Linked DNA regions of Homo sapiens: region 1 is linked to region 2. The links are contacts of gene promoters, found by promoter capture Hi-C in blood cells and fetal thymus (Javierre and others, 2016). All regions are on one chromosome and are shown on one strand. Each heading gives the region's core, a stretch centred on a gene start or on the middle of the fragment in contact. The rest is flanking DNA. Distances are from core to core; before and after follow the strand shown. Region 1 overlaps SOS2 (SOS Ras/Rho guanine nucleotide exchange factor 2). Region 2 holds the start of TXNDC16 (thioredoxin domain containing 16).

What was found. Contacts are between HindIII fragments. The CHiCAGO score rates a contact against its expected background, and 5 or more counts as called.
Region 1: a fragment that was not itself captured here is called in contact with the fragment with the promoter of TXNDC16 in region 2 in 1 of 17 cell types (neutrophils); the score reaches 7.3 in neutrophils.

What each region holds. Positions count from the first base shown.
Region 1 is chr14:50,222,476-50,228,621 of GRCh38, forward strand. All of the region lies in intron 1 of SOS2 (SOS Ras/Rho guanine nucleotide exchange factor 2), which reads right to left. Among named protein-coding and RNA genes, the nearest start is that of SOS2, 6.0 kb to the right of the region's middle. RefSeq lists an enhancer at 3,333-3,859. The HindIII fragment of the contact is 1,630 bases long and covers 2,001-3,630 here.
Region 2 is chr14:52,551,255-52,557,400 of GRCh38, forward strand. It overlaps TXNDC16 (thioredoxin domain containing 16), which reads right to left and starts at 1,251. Exons shown (of 21, transcript NM_020784.3): 1 at 1,062-1,251. It overlaps GPR137C (G protein-coupled receptor 137C), which reads left to right and starts at 1,582. Exons shown (of 7, transcript NM_001099652.2): 1 at 1,582-2,337. The coding sequence starts at 1,894. RefSeq lists silencers at 1,772-1,841, 1,852-2,051. The HindIII fragment of the contact is 4,024 bases long and covers 1-2,828 here.

The sequences.
Region 1 (6,146 bases), core at 1,566-4,065, 2.3 Mb before region 2:
CACTGATGTGGGACTGTCTGGGAAGCAGGAGGATGTAGCAGTTTTAGATAGGCTGTAAGAGAAAATCTCTCCAAGAAAATGATGTCTGACTATAAAGACCTAAAGGAGGTAAAAGGGCCAGCCACGTGATTATCTGAGGGAAGGGTGTTTCAGGTAGAAAATTCAGCAAGTACAAAAGTCCTAAGACTAAAACATGTCTACGTTATAGAAACAAGAAAGCCAGTATGGGGCAGAAGCAGAACAAACAAGGGACAATATTAAAGAGGTCAGAGAGGTAAAAGCGGGAGGTGGGGCAGCCCTAGACTGCAGAGGGCCTAGTAAACCTTTGGGAGGACTTTTTTGACTTTTATTCTGAGAAGCACTGAGAGGGTTTTGAACAAAGGAGTGAAATGATCTCACTTATCTCTTTGTGTTTGGGGAGAAAAAGAAACTAAATAGGACAAGAGCAGATGATCAGAGACCAGTTGAAAAGATATTTCAATATTCCAGGAGATTGGTGATGATGACTTGGTTCCAGGTGGTAAAAGTCAAAAAGTATAAAACGGTAACTAAATATATAGTTTGAGGTAGAGCTAAAAGGATGTGCTGACAAATTAGATGTGTGGTATAAAAAAAGACAATATTCAAGAATAACTTAAGATTTTTAGTTTGAGCAACCGGAAGGATGGAGTAGCCATTTATTGATATGTTAACCACTACAAAAGAAACAAGTTTGCAGGGGAAGAAAAGGATACAGTGTTGGTTGAGATGCCTCTGTGGAAATATCAAGTAAAAAGTTGGCCGGGTGTGGTGCTTCATGCCTGTAACTCAAACACTTTGGAGGCTGAGGCAGGAGGAATGCTTGGGCCCAGGAGTTGGAGACCAGTTTATGCAACACAGTAAGACCCTGTCTCTACAAAAAGTTTTTTAAAAATTGGGGCTGGGCGTGGTGGCTCATCCCTGTAATCCCAGTACTTTGGGAGGCCGGGGCGGGCAGGTGACGAGGTCAACAGATTGAGACCATCCTGGCCAACATGGTGAAACCCCGTCTCTACTAAAAATACAAAAAAATTACCTGGGCGTGGTGGCACACGCCTGTAGTCCCAGCTACTCGGGAGGCTGAGGCAGGAGAATCACTTGAACCTGAGAGGTGGAGGTTGCAGTGAGCCAAGATTGCACCACTACACCCCAGCCTGGCAAAAAAGCGAGACTCCATCTAAAACAAACAAACAAACAAAAAATTAGCTGGGTGTGGTGGCACACACCTGTAGTCCCAGCTATATGGGGGCGGCAGGGGGGTGAGGTGGGAGGATCATTGAGCCCAGGAGGTTAAGGCTATAGTGAGCTGTGATCTTGCCACTGCACTCCATCCTGGGTGACAGAGTGCGACCCTGTCTCAAAAAAAGAGTTGAACATTCATGTTTAAGAAAGAGGTCTGAGCCAGAAATGTAAATTTGGTAATTATCAGATTTAGATTATACGTGAAGCAATGAGGCAGGATGGCATCTCCAAAGGAGGATGTGTTAATAGAAATAGAAGTCTAAAAATTGGCCAGGCGCAGTGGCTCACGCCTGTAATCCCAACACTTGGGGGGCCGAGGCGGGCAGATCACAAGGTCAGGAGTTCAAGGCCAGCCTGGCCAACATGGTGAAACCCCATTTCTACTAAAAATATAAAAAAAAAAAAATTAACCAGACGTGGTGGTGCGCGCCTGTAATCCCAGCTACTCGGGAGGCTGAGACAGGAGAACTGGTTGAGCCTGGGAGGCAGAGGTTGCAGTGAGCCAAGATCGCACCACTGCACTCCAGCCTGGGTGACAGAGCAAGACTCCGTCTCAGGAAAAAAAAAAAATATATATATACACACACACACACACACACACACACACACACACACACACACACACACACATATATATAAATGGGCTCTGGGGAGGTCAGAAGGATGTGGTCACAGAAAGATGAGGAGGAATCAAGGGAAGGGAAACTAGAAGGAATATTCAGAGAAAAAAAATCCCTGAAAGCTTGATATTCTTCTGGAAGCCAAATGAAGAAAGGATTTCAAAAAAAGAAGAGATCAACTGTCAAATGCTGCTAATAGGTCAGTTAAGAAAGAACTATAATATACTTTGTATGTAAGAAGTAGTTTTTGGCAGGCAGGTGGCTCACTCCTGTAATCCCAGAACTTTGGGAGGCCAAGGCTGGAGGATCACTTGAGTCCAGGAATTTGAGACCAGCCAGAGGACATAGCAAGACCTTGTCTCCACAAAAAAAATAAGAAAATTAGCTGGGTGTAGTGGCACATGCCTGTAGTCCCAGCTACTCAGGAGGCTATAGTGGGAGGATCATTTGAGCCCAGGAGTTGGAGGCTGCAGTGAGCTATGATCATGCCACTGTACTCCAGCCTGCGTAGCAGAGCAAAACCCTGTCAAAAAAAAAAAAAAAGAGAGAGAGAGAGAAATAGTGTTTGAGTTTACAAAATGACCTAATGAGGAAGAAAACTGGAGTACAGAAAACTTTACTTAGAAGAGCTAATACTAGTCCTTATATCTAGATCTTGGTATTATTTTCATCTTGTTGCTTCACTTCTACATGTTAAAATGTGAATGTGTAATACTTTATCCATTTGAAAAAACTTTGTACTAGCATATATTCTTATGTAAAAGAAGAAAATAATTTTTTATGGACATGGGGTCTCGCTATGTTGGCCAGGTTGGTCTTGAACTCCTGGCCTCAAGCAATCCTCCCATCTCAGCCTCCCAAAGTACTAGGATTACAGGCATGAGCTACTGCACCTGGCCCATGGAAGAAAATAATTTTTGGTTGTTAATTTTTAACATGAGATAATGCTAAATCCACTAGTTACATTAAAATTCCTTTTGATTCAAATATGCAGGATATAATCAAATTACTGTTCCCTTGAAAGAGAGTCCATGGTTAATACAAAAGACATATAGTTGATTTATGTCAAGGGGTAACACAGGTAATGCTTTGAATACTCAGCATAAAACACTTTAATGGAATATTATTGCTCCAAATATACCATACCAAAATTAAACCAAAAATAGAAGGCTACTTAATCATTGCTGACAGGGAGCCAAGTACAGCAAGTTAAAGTACATTCCTACCGCTCATCTAGTTCTGGCTGAACTCTTCGGGTCAGTTTGGGTCATTATTAGTTTGGAATAATTCCAAATGACTCCCTCGAGTTCTACTGTTACATTCAGCGGCTTTAGGAATTCCAGAACAGGCTCATGTCACAAAAATCACAGGATCTCTTATTAGTTTTTGGCTTTGACTTGAAGTAATCTTTTCAAAAAGCAATTCTGATCAAGTTAATCTAATTACTTTGCTATGTAAATGAGAACCCAACAGGACTTCCTATTCTCAGGCAGAGACCTTAACTCAGTGTACCTACAGTCTACCATACTAGCTTCATCCACTTATTCTTCTTGTTTTTTAAAATAAGTCATTAAATTCAGAATCTGAGACCTATTCAAAACAAACAAACAAACAAATCATGTTCTTACTTTCCCCTCAGCCTCAAATCCTTCCCCCCCGCCCTTTTTTTTTCTTGTTAATTCTACTGATCTTTCAGATAATTGTTTACTTCCTTATTGTCTGTCTCTCTGCCACAGCCACTTAGAACACAAGCTTTATAACAGCAGGGGCTCTGCTACATCTTCCGTATCAAGAACAGTGTCTGCAGCCAGGCGACGTAGCTTACACCTGTAATCCCAGCATTTTTGGAGGCCAAGGTGGGAGGATCGCTTGAGCCCAGGAGTTCAAGACCAGCCTGGAGACAGTAATATTACTATATTTGAATATATAATCCAGAAAGAAGCACAAATGTTGCTTGCTTAAAGTCTTCTTTGACTCTCATATATCAATGACACCAGTTATATTTTCTCAGATCACCCTGTACTTTTCTTGTGGGCCTCAGGAAAGATCCAGTGCCATCTTCTAAAACAAACTTCCAAGAGACATTTGTACAAACGCAGAAACACTAGGATCTCAGTAGAACTTCACAAAACCATTTTTAAATCAAAGCCCCTACCGATCTTTTTCCTTGCCGTAGACTGCTATTAATTAACCCAGACATTCTCTCACACCTCTTGCCTTTTAGATATCTAAGAGCAAATTGTCACAGGGTGGGGAGGTCGATATTTAACCTGAATCTAATTGGACTCAGGAACAAAGTAATTCAACCAATTCTTTCTAGCTTTCTCTGACATTTTTAACTACAGCTGGCAAGAAAACAGCCATGTTCTTTTCTATGGCTAGCCTGGTGAAAAACACCTTACAGAAAAGACATCTACAAAATAAATATCAGGGACTGTAAAATCTGATAAAATGATTTTGAGGCATATTTCCCATATGAAGAATGCTGATTTATCTCAACATATAATCAAATAACACATGCATATAGTACCAAGGGATTTCAACGACACAGGTAATAAACTGCATTTACAAATATACACCATGCTCTTTTTTCCCCAAGTAACACAATAGCTTCAATGATCTTGGGGAGCAGTGGTGAAGGCAATTATGTTCTAGGCTCTTTTAGGGAAGATACATAATTTAGCAGTAATGTTAACAATCCATGCATTATCCATTAGTAGTGTCATTTCACTCTGCTTTGTAGCTCTCTGTTTTTAAATGATCTAGGTGAGGTTCTATTTTAAAAGTTTAAGAACAAGCAAAAAGCTAAAGAACACCACATTTCTATTCCCAAAATTATTTTTCCATAAACCTATTTGTCTATCTCTGTGTTTCTTTTTCTTTCTTTCTTTCTTTTTTTTTTTTTTTGAGACAGAGTCTCGCTCTGTCGCCCAGGCTGGAGTGCAGTGGTGCGATCTCAGCCCACTCTAACCTCTGCCTCCCATGTTCAAGAGATTCTCTGCCTCAGCCTCCCGAGTAGCTGGGATCACAGGCATGCACCACCACACTTGGCTAATTTTGGTATTTTTTTTTTTTGAGACAGAGTCTTACTCCATCGCCCATGCTGGAGTGCAGTGGCGCGATCTCGGCTCAACTGCAAGCTCCACCTTCTGGGTTCATACCATTCTCCTGCCTCAGCCTCCCGAGTAGCTGGGACTACAGGCGTCCGCCACCACGCCCGGCTAATTTTTTGGGTTTTTTTCTGTATTTTTAGTAGAGATGGGGTTTCACCGTGTTAGCCAGCATGGTCTCGATCTCCTGACCTCAGGTAATCTGCCCGCCTTGGCCTCCCAAATGGGATTACAGGCATGAGCCACTGCGCCCAGCCCATCTCTGTGTTTCTATGTAATGCAATGAATACTTGAGATTGGTTTTTTAAAAATCCCTTGAATTTTCAATGTTGACAATGGTGACTTTGTCAAATACATATATATATGGATCTATATATGGGTATATATGGATATATACATGGATATAGACATAGATATCCAGTTTTCATAAAAACTAGCCAAAACTGGAAAATAAGCAAAAGAATACTGGCTGTGTTTCAGTACAGTGCTATGCTTGAATCTTTTATTAATTTCTACTGACTATTTTACACATCTATAAGATTAAGTTACAGCTTTTCAGCAGATAGAGATGCAAGTAATTTTTTTTTTTTTTTTGAGATGGAGTCTCGCTCTGTCGCCCAGGATGGAGTGCAGTGGTGTGATCTCGGCTCACTGCAACCTCTGCCTAGCAGGTTCAAGTGATTCTCCTGCCTCAGCCTCCTGAGCAGCTGGGATTACAGGCACACACCACCACACCCAGCTAATTTTTGGTATTTTTTAGTAGAGACGGGGTTTCACCATGCTGGCCAGGCTGGTCACGAACTCCTAAACTCAGTTGATCCACCAGCCTCAGCCTCCCAGAGTGCTGGATTACAGGTGTGAGCCACCACGCCCACTGAGATGCAAGTAATTTTTAGCCAGAGGAAAATATAACCCAAAGCCTACTCTTTTATGTTTCTTGTAGGGTATTAACTAATTCTGTATGTAACCCAACAGTCTTAATATTCCCTTATTAAATTGCCTATAAATACCTCCTCAAATTTTCATATTAAGTGACTTTAACATCTTACTAGTTCCCTCATCAATGGGCTGAATCAAAATAATTGATACATGTTCATTTACATTTGCATGGAAGTGATGACTTTACCTTTCTGAAAATTACGTTCTAACAGTTTTG
Region 2 (6,146 bases), core at 1-2,500:
GGGCAAAGCATATGACAAAGGCCAGCCTGGACAATATAGTGAAACCTCGTCTCTACCAAAAAAAAAAAAAAAATCAGCCGGGCATGGTGGCTCCAGTGCCTGTAGTCCCAGCTACTTGGGAGGCTGAGGTGGGAGGACTGCTTGTGCCCAGGAGGTGGAGGTTTGTAGTGAACTGTCACTACAGCCTGGGCGACAGAGCGAGACCCTGCATGAAAAAAAGGAAAAAAAAAAAAAAAAGCATAGGACAAAGGATGGTGAGGTAAGAAAAGCTGGGTCTTTGTTGCTCCAATAAACGTAGCAATGTCTTTCACAAGGATACTGAATTCGTAATGTGCTGTGTATTCTAAAGAAAACAAATTATTTCCTTTTAATTTTGCACTACTTGCTAATCTTATTTCCAAATAGGAAAAAAAAAAGTCAACAACTATGTGCCGGCCCAATATACGTTAGTCGATCTGATTATTCCTCGGTTCTTCACAGCAGTAACACAGCATGTATTTTCTCTCTCAGGCCCAGGAATAGCGCCACCATCTACCATACACAGGTCCAAGGCTTCGATACATGTGGAATTTAAACAGTACAGAATATTCTACTTCCTCTCCAGGCAATCATCATACTTACAAGTCTGTTTCTGCCTTTTTCCCAAAACTTAAGCCCAGAGCATCTTCCCAAATTCTACGTTTGAAAGAACCAGCTTCCCCCTGCTCACAGATCGCTTCAACATCCATCTGATACTACTACTACTCTTCCTTAAGAGACATTTCCCTTGGCCTTGGGAGGAAAGGGTCTTTCACTTAAGAGCTCCGATTCTCCCCGTCGCCCCTTTCCATCCCCTCGACCCACAAAGGGCTCCGGTGTTTCCCGCCGTTCATGCAGCGAAAAGAGAAAGCAAAATGCCCTCAGGAGGCTCCAGGTGAGGCCCTTCGGTGCCCCAGAGACGGGTGTCTTAAGTCAGACTCCGGAGCTGTGCAGTGCAGCCCTGGCTACAGAAAGCTGCTTCGTCTGAATCCCCGGGTCTGCAGGCAGAGCCCACAGCCTGAAGGGCCAGCGCTGTCACCTACCTGCCCGGGACCTGCGGGCGGGGACCTGGGCCGTTCCCGAGGCCGCGCGGCCAACAGTTCCCGCCGCCACGCGACGGAGGAGGAGGCAGAAGACGGGGCCGTGCCAGACTAGCCGGGTAGCCTGGAACCACTTCGCCAACCTGCAAAGGCGTAGCACTTCTCCCTCCCAGCCTGCAGCCGCCACCGACTCGGCGGAGTCGGCCTCCTGGGAAAAAACAACCTGCGAAGCTCCTCCTTCTCCTCGTGCTCCCTACGCGAGGCACTCTCTAACCAATGGGAAACGTGGTGGGCGGAGCGAGAGTGACAGACGATTACAGAGTCCTCCCGCCGGCGCGAACGGGCGGTGCAGTAGCAGGGCCAATCAGCAGCGTGGGTGGGAAGTACAGGGGCGGGAGAAAGTAGGGAAATTACGCGCCCAATCAGATCTCGGGGCCCTCGAGCGACGGGTCCTGCGGCCCGTGGCCTTCCGAGCGCGGCGCTCAGGGGGCGTGCCTGCCTGGGCCAATCGGCGCGAGCCCACAGTGCGGAGCGAGCGCCTCAAATGCTCGGGTTTCTCAGCTGATTGTCTCCAGCCGAGAGTTGTTTTTTGCAGCTACGGAGCCGAGCCGCAGCAGGAGGAGCCGAGACCCCCGGGGGGTGGGGGGAAAGAGGAGGCGGGGTCCGGGGGAGCCGCGGCTGCTTTGCGCTGGACTCCGGGTCCCGTCACGGCGCTTCCTGGGGTTAGAGGCTGGGGTGGGTGGGGGGTAAGGGGGCAGTCCTTCTCCCCTTCGACGGCGGCTCCGAGTCCAGCCCCTTCCTTCCCGCGCTCGCTCGCCCGGCCCCCAGCCCCCTCATGAGGGTGTCCGTGCCGGGTCCGGCGGCCGCTGCCGCCCCCGCAGCCGGCCGCGAGCCCTCCACGCCCGGCGGGGGCAGCGGAGGCGGAGGCGCCGTCGCTGCAGCCTCAGGCGCCGCGGTGCCGGGCTCCGTGCAGTTGGCGCTGAGCGTCCTGCACGCCCTGCTCTACGCCGCGCTGTTCGCCTTTGCCTACCTGCAGCTGTGGCGGCTGCTCCTGTACCGCGAGCGGCGGCTGAGTTACCAGAGCCTCTGCCTCTTCCTCTGTCTCCTGTGGGCAGCGCTCAGGACCACCCTCTTCTCCGCCGCCTTCTCGCTCAGCGGCTCCCTGCCCTTGCTCCGGCCGCCCGCTCACCTGCACTTCTTCCCCCACTGGCTGCTCTACTGCTTCCCCTCCTGTCTCCAGTTCTCCACGCTCTGTCTCCTCAACCTCTACCTGGCGGAGGTAAGGCGGGAGGGCCGGCATGCGGGGCCCGGGCGGGTGCGCGGGGCCGCCGGGATCAACTCCCGCTGAGGACCAGCGGGGGCGGGGGGTGGGCAGCGAGAGGCGGACTGGAAACCAGCCTGGGGAAACTGAGGCACACCTGGAGTGTGAGCCAGTGTTTTCGCCTTAAACTTAAGTGGCTGATTGGCTTGATTACTGAGGGGTTCGGGCTAGGGGGTGAGTGAGTGAGTGTGTGTGTCTGACAACTTAAAACAGCAACGGAACGAACCCTTTGTTCGGTGTTCTGGCCCTCCGAGGTAAGGCGTTGGTGGCACCAACAAAGTGGCATCGCAAGAAGTAGCAGCCCCGGTGGCTCTGCCGAAGCCGGACTGTGTTGAGGGAGGTTGGATGCTGAGGTAGCAGCAGCTCTGCTGAAGCTGGACTGCTGCCAGCCATTACGTCACCAGGCAGAGCTGTTCCTCTGCTATTGTTGCTGCGTTTCTTTTATTAGAAGCTTATATTCCCTCCTGCATCTCCTTTCCTGTGGCTCGATAAGCCTCACATAAATTTCGTTCGATAGTTCCCCAGCAGGGTTGATGATCAATAACCAATGCTGAGGATCAGGATAAGGACCTCCATAAAGCCCTTAATGTTTGCCCCAGTTGCTTCGTGCTTTAGCGGTTTATCCTACCTCCTATTAGCATAGTCTTTTTTGGAGCTAATTAAGAGAAAAAAATACTAGCTTAACCTGTGCCTATTGCAGAAACAAAACCACCAAACTGTTTTTGCAATAACTTGCTTAATATCTGGAACCTAATCACACCCCCTTTCTCTTTTATGGGGAATTGCTGGTTGGATTGCATTGTTCTGCAGCGCTTAGGTATTTGACCCATTTCAAACAGGTTTGGGAGTGTAAGGTTGTCAATCATGTGTGTCAGCTTGTGGTATTTAAGCCATAATATTTTAAGACTTTCCCCCAAAAAAGTCCTCCTTCCCACCAAAAGAAAAGCTTGAGGAGGGGAGGAAGCAAGGTGACATCATATGCTTAATACAGACTAATATAGAATAATATTGGCCTATGCAGCTAATCCTCTCAAAGGCTTTTTTGGAGGTGATGGAATTAATGTAGTTCCAAGCAAAAGTAAAAAAAAAAAAAATGACGTATATTAAGTGTTTATATTTCCTGCATAAACCAACTCTTTTCTCCTTTAATAGGAAGTAGAATGCATAATTTTATAATCAGTCATAATGTCAGCTATTTAGCACACTAAAAACAATAGTTGAAAACAACAAAACTAATTTAACTTTTATTATTTTCCTTCTCCATCCTTTGAAAGTCCAAACAATACAATGACAAAAACGCAAACCAGTAAGCGGAAATAAGAAGCATAGGTTATCACAAATCAAATGATGCCATAGTCGTGTCACTTATTTGAGGGTGTTCTAATCTAGTTGTCGTTTAAGCTGTTATAACACTTCTACCCTTTATACTTAAACTGATACATTGTAATCTTCCTGCCACCATTTCAGATAGTGCGTTAGTGACTTCTCAACGCTGAAGCTTTTACTCCAGGTTCAGATGTTTACCTGAAAGTGACTAGCGATTTTTATGCCAGGGGCATCAGATGACTTGTTTTTTCCCTATATATTTTGATTTACAAAATAATATGAATGATTCACTGTAAAATAGTTGGTAGGCATTTCATAAAGTGGGTAAACACTCTTTTTACTTCTTGAGGTATAACATATACAATAAAGTCCACAATCTTAAATGCACACCTAGATGAAATTTTATATCTGTATACACCCATGTTACCACCACCCAGATTAAGATATAAAGCATTTTCCGTGTCCCAGAAGTTTCCCTTTTTACCCTCTCCCAGTCAGTAGCTCCCCCAGGTAAGCACAAAGTGGGTAAACACTATCCAAAAAAGGAGATATATTTAAGCTCAAAATTCTGAAGGTATGCTTATATAGCATAGAATACACGGAGTATCTAGATTGGGTCTTCAGACTTTGAGCTAATATTCCAAGCTAGTGAGGAAGAATTTAAAATCTGAAAGTCTTCCTGTTAAATGTTTGTGTAATATGCTTTTTTAAAAACGATAAAACTCTATTAACCTGAAAAATACAATTTGGAAAGAAGCTGGGATAAAGCTTTTTTCCTTTGTAATGCCTGCTAAAAAGAGTGTGAGTTGTTTGTCTATCCTTTCTTTTTATAATGAAATTAACAATTTTAGGACACAGTTGTACTTAAGAGAACAAATTGTCAATTTTTTGAAAGCCTGTTTGAAAGGAGATATCTTAACCAGAAATCATTTCTCTTTTCATTAGAGAAAATCTCCAGGAACCTGTATTTAAGAGAGTATTTTAGTTCAAATTTTTATGTCAGTTCCAGATAACTGCAAGTATACTTCCCATTGATCATTCTGAATTAATGAAGTTTTTCCTAGTGAGTTCTTCATATTATAGCAAAGTGGTAGGGAAAGCCTATGTGGTGATAAATATAAGACTTAACTGATGTTTAATTTTTTTAACCAAAAGCCCCTATAACTTTTTTGAATAGTCGTGTGTCTTGATTACCAACTCACTCTGTCTTTGCTGTATGCCGTATTAAATACCAATTCCATATTACTTTTCACTTGTTTAAAGCATTTGTTTTTTTCTGATTCTCACTAAGAGTAGCTTTAAGGACTTAGTTATAAAGAATCGTGGATCAGTATAAAAAGTAAAACAAACTCTACTACTTTGAATACATTTTGGTGGATATTCTAAAACTCATGTTTTTGAAAAGTTAAGAAATGCCTCAACCCCTTTTTTCTTTTTTTTTTTTTCTTGGTGTCTACACTTGAATGGAATTGAGATGAGGGAAAGTAGCCCTTTCTTAAACAGTTAAGCTTCTCAGTGTCTCATACTTAACCTCCTGGAAGCCTATAGTTGAGAGAGAGGGGGAAAAAAAAAAGAAAAGCCACCTTGTACACTAATCTAAAAACACATTTTGAACTTCTGGCAGGATCAGTAGGACAAGAGCTTTTCCAGAGAAGGGTTCACACTCCTGGAGTTTTACCGGAGAAGACTTCAATATTTGAAACAGACTATCTGATAAAACTGATTCTATCTACCATTAGAACATATTGAAGGACTTAAAAGGAGAATTGACAGCATCACACAATATATCCATGTAAGAAACCTGCACATGAACCTCCTGAATCTAAATTTTTTTTTTTAATGAGAGTTGATGGTATACCATCTTGGAGTGTTGTGATGCATGCCAAAATCAATGAGTTCATCTTCAACATATTGAAGTTCTTACTTTCAGTTTGGTCTTAGGAGTGCCAGTTGCTTAATCAGGATAAAGTACAGTGACTTAATTACAATGCCAAAACAGATAGGAAAATTAAATTCAAAATCTTAACTCTTACATTTATGGATGCTATTATTGTCCCTACCAGTAGATATATTCTTATATTGGTAATACTTCAAATAACATGCAAGTCAACTTACAGGTTCATTTGATTTTGTTCTGTTCTTTGATTTCCCACAAAAGTTGAAATCACATTTCTACCACCTAAAATAGAAATTCCTTGAGGATAAGAAGGAATATTTTACATATTTTTATCTCCAGCAACTAGAACAATGATGATTATATTATTGAATGACACTTTATAAAAAGGTCAAAATTTAGAAAATAGTTATCTAAAATATGGGGGTTAACTTTATTTTGATGAACATTTGAGGTAAATTATGTATTGTCTGGAATCTATTTTCTGCCTAAAAGATTTCATACAATATAGAGTTTTGTTTAATGAAACTTTTTATATCATGGCAAA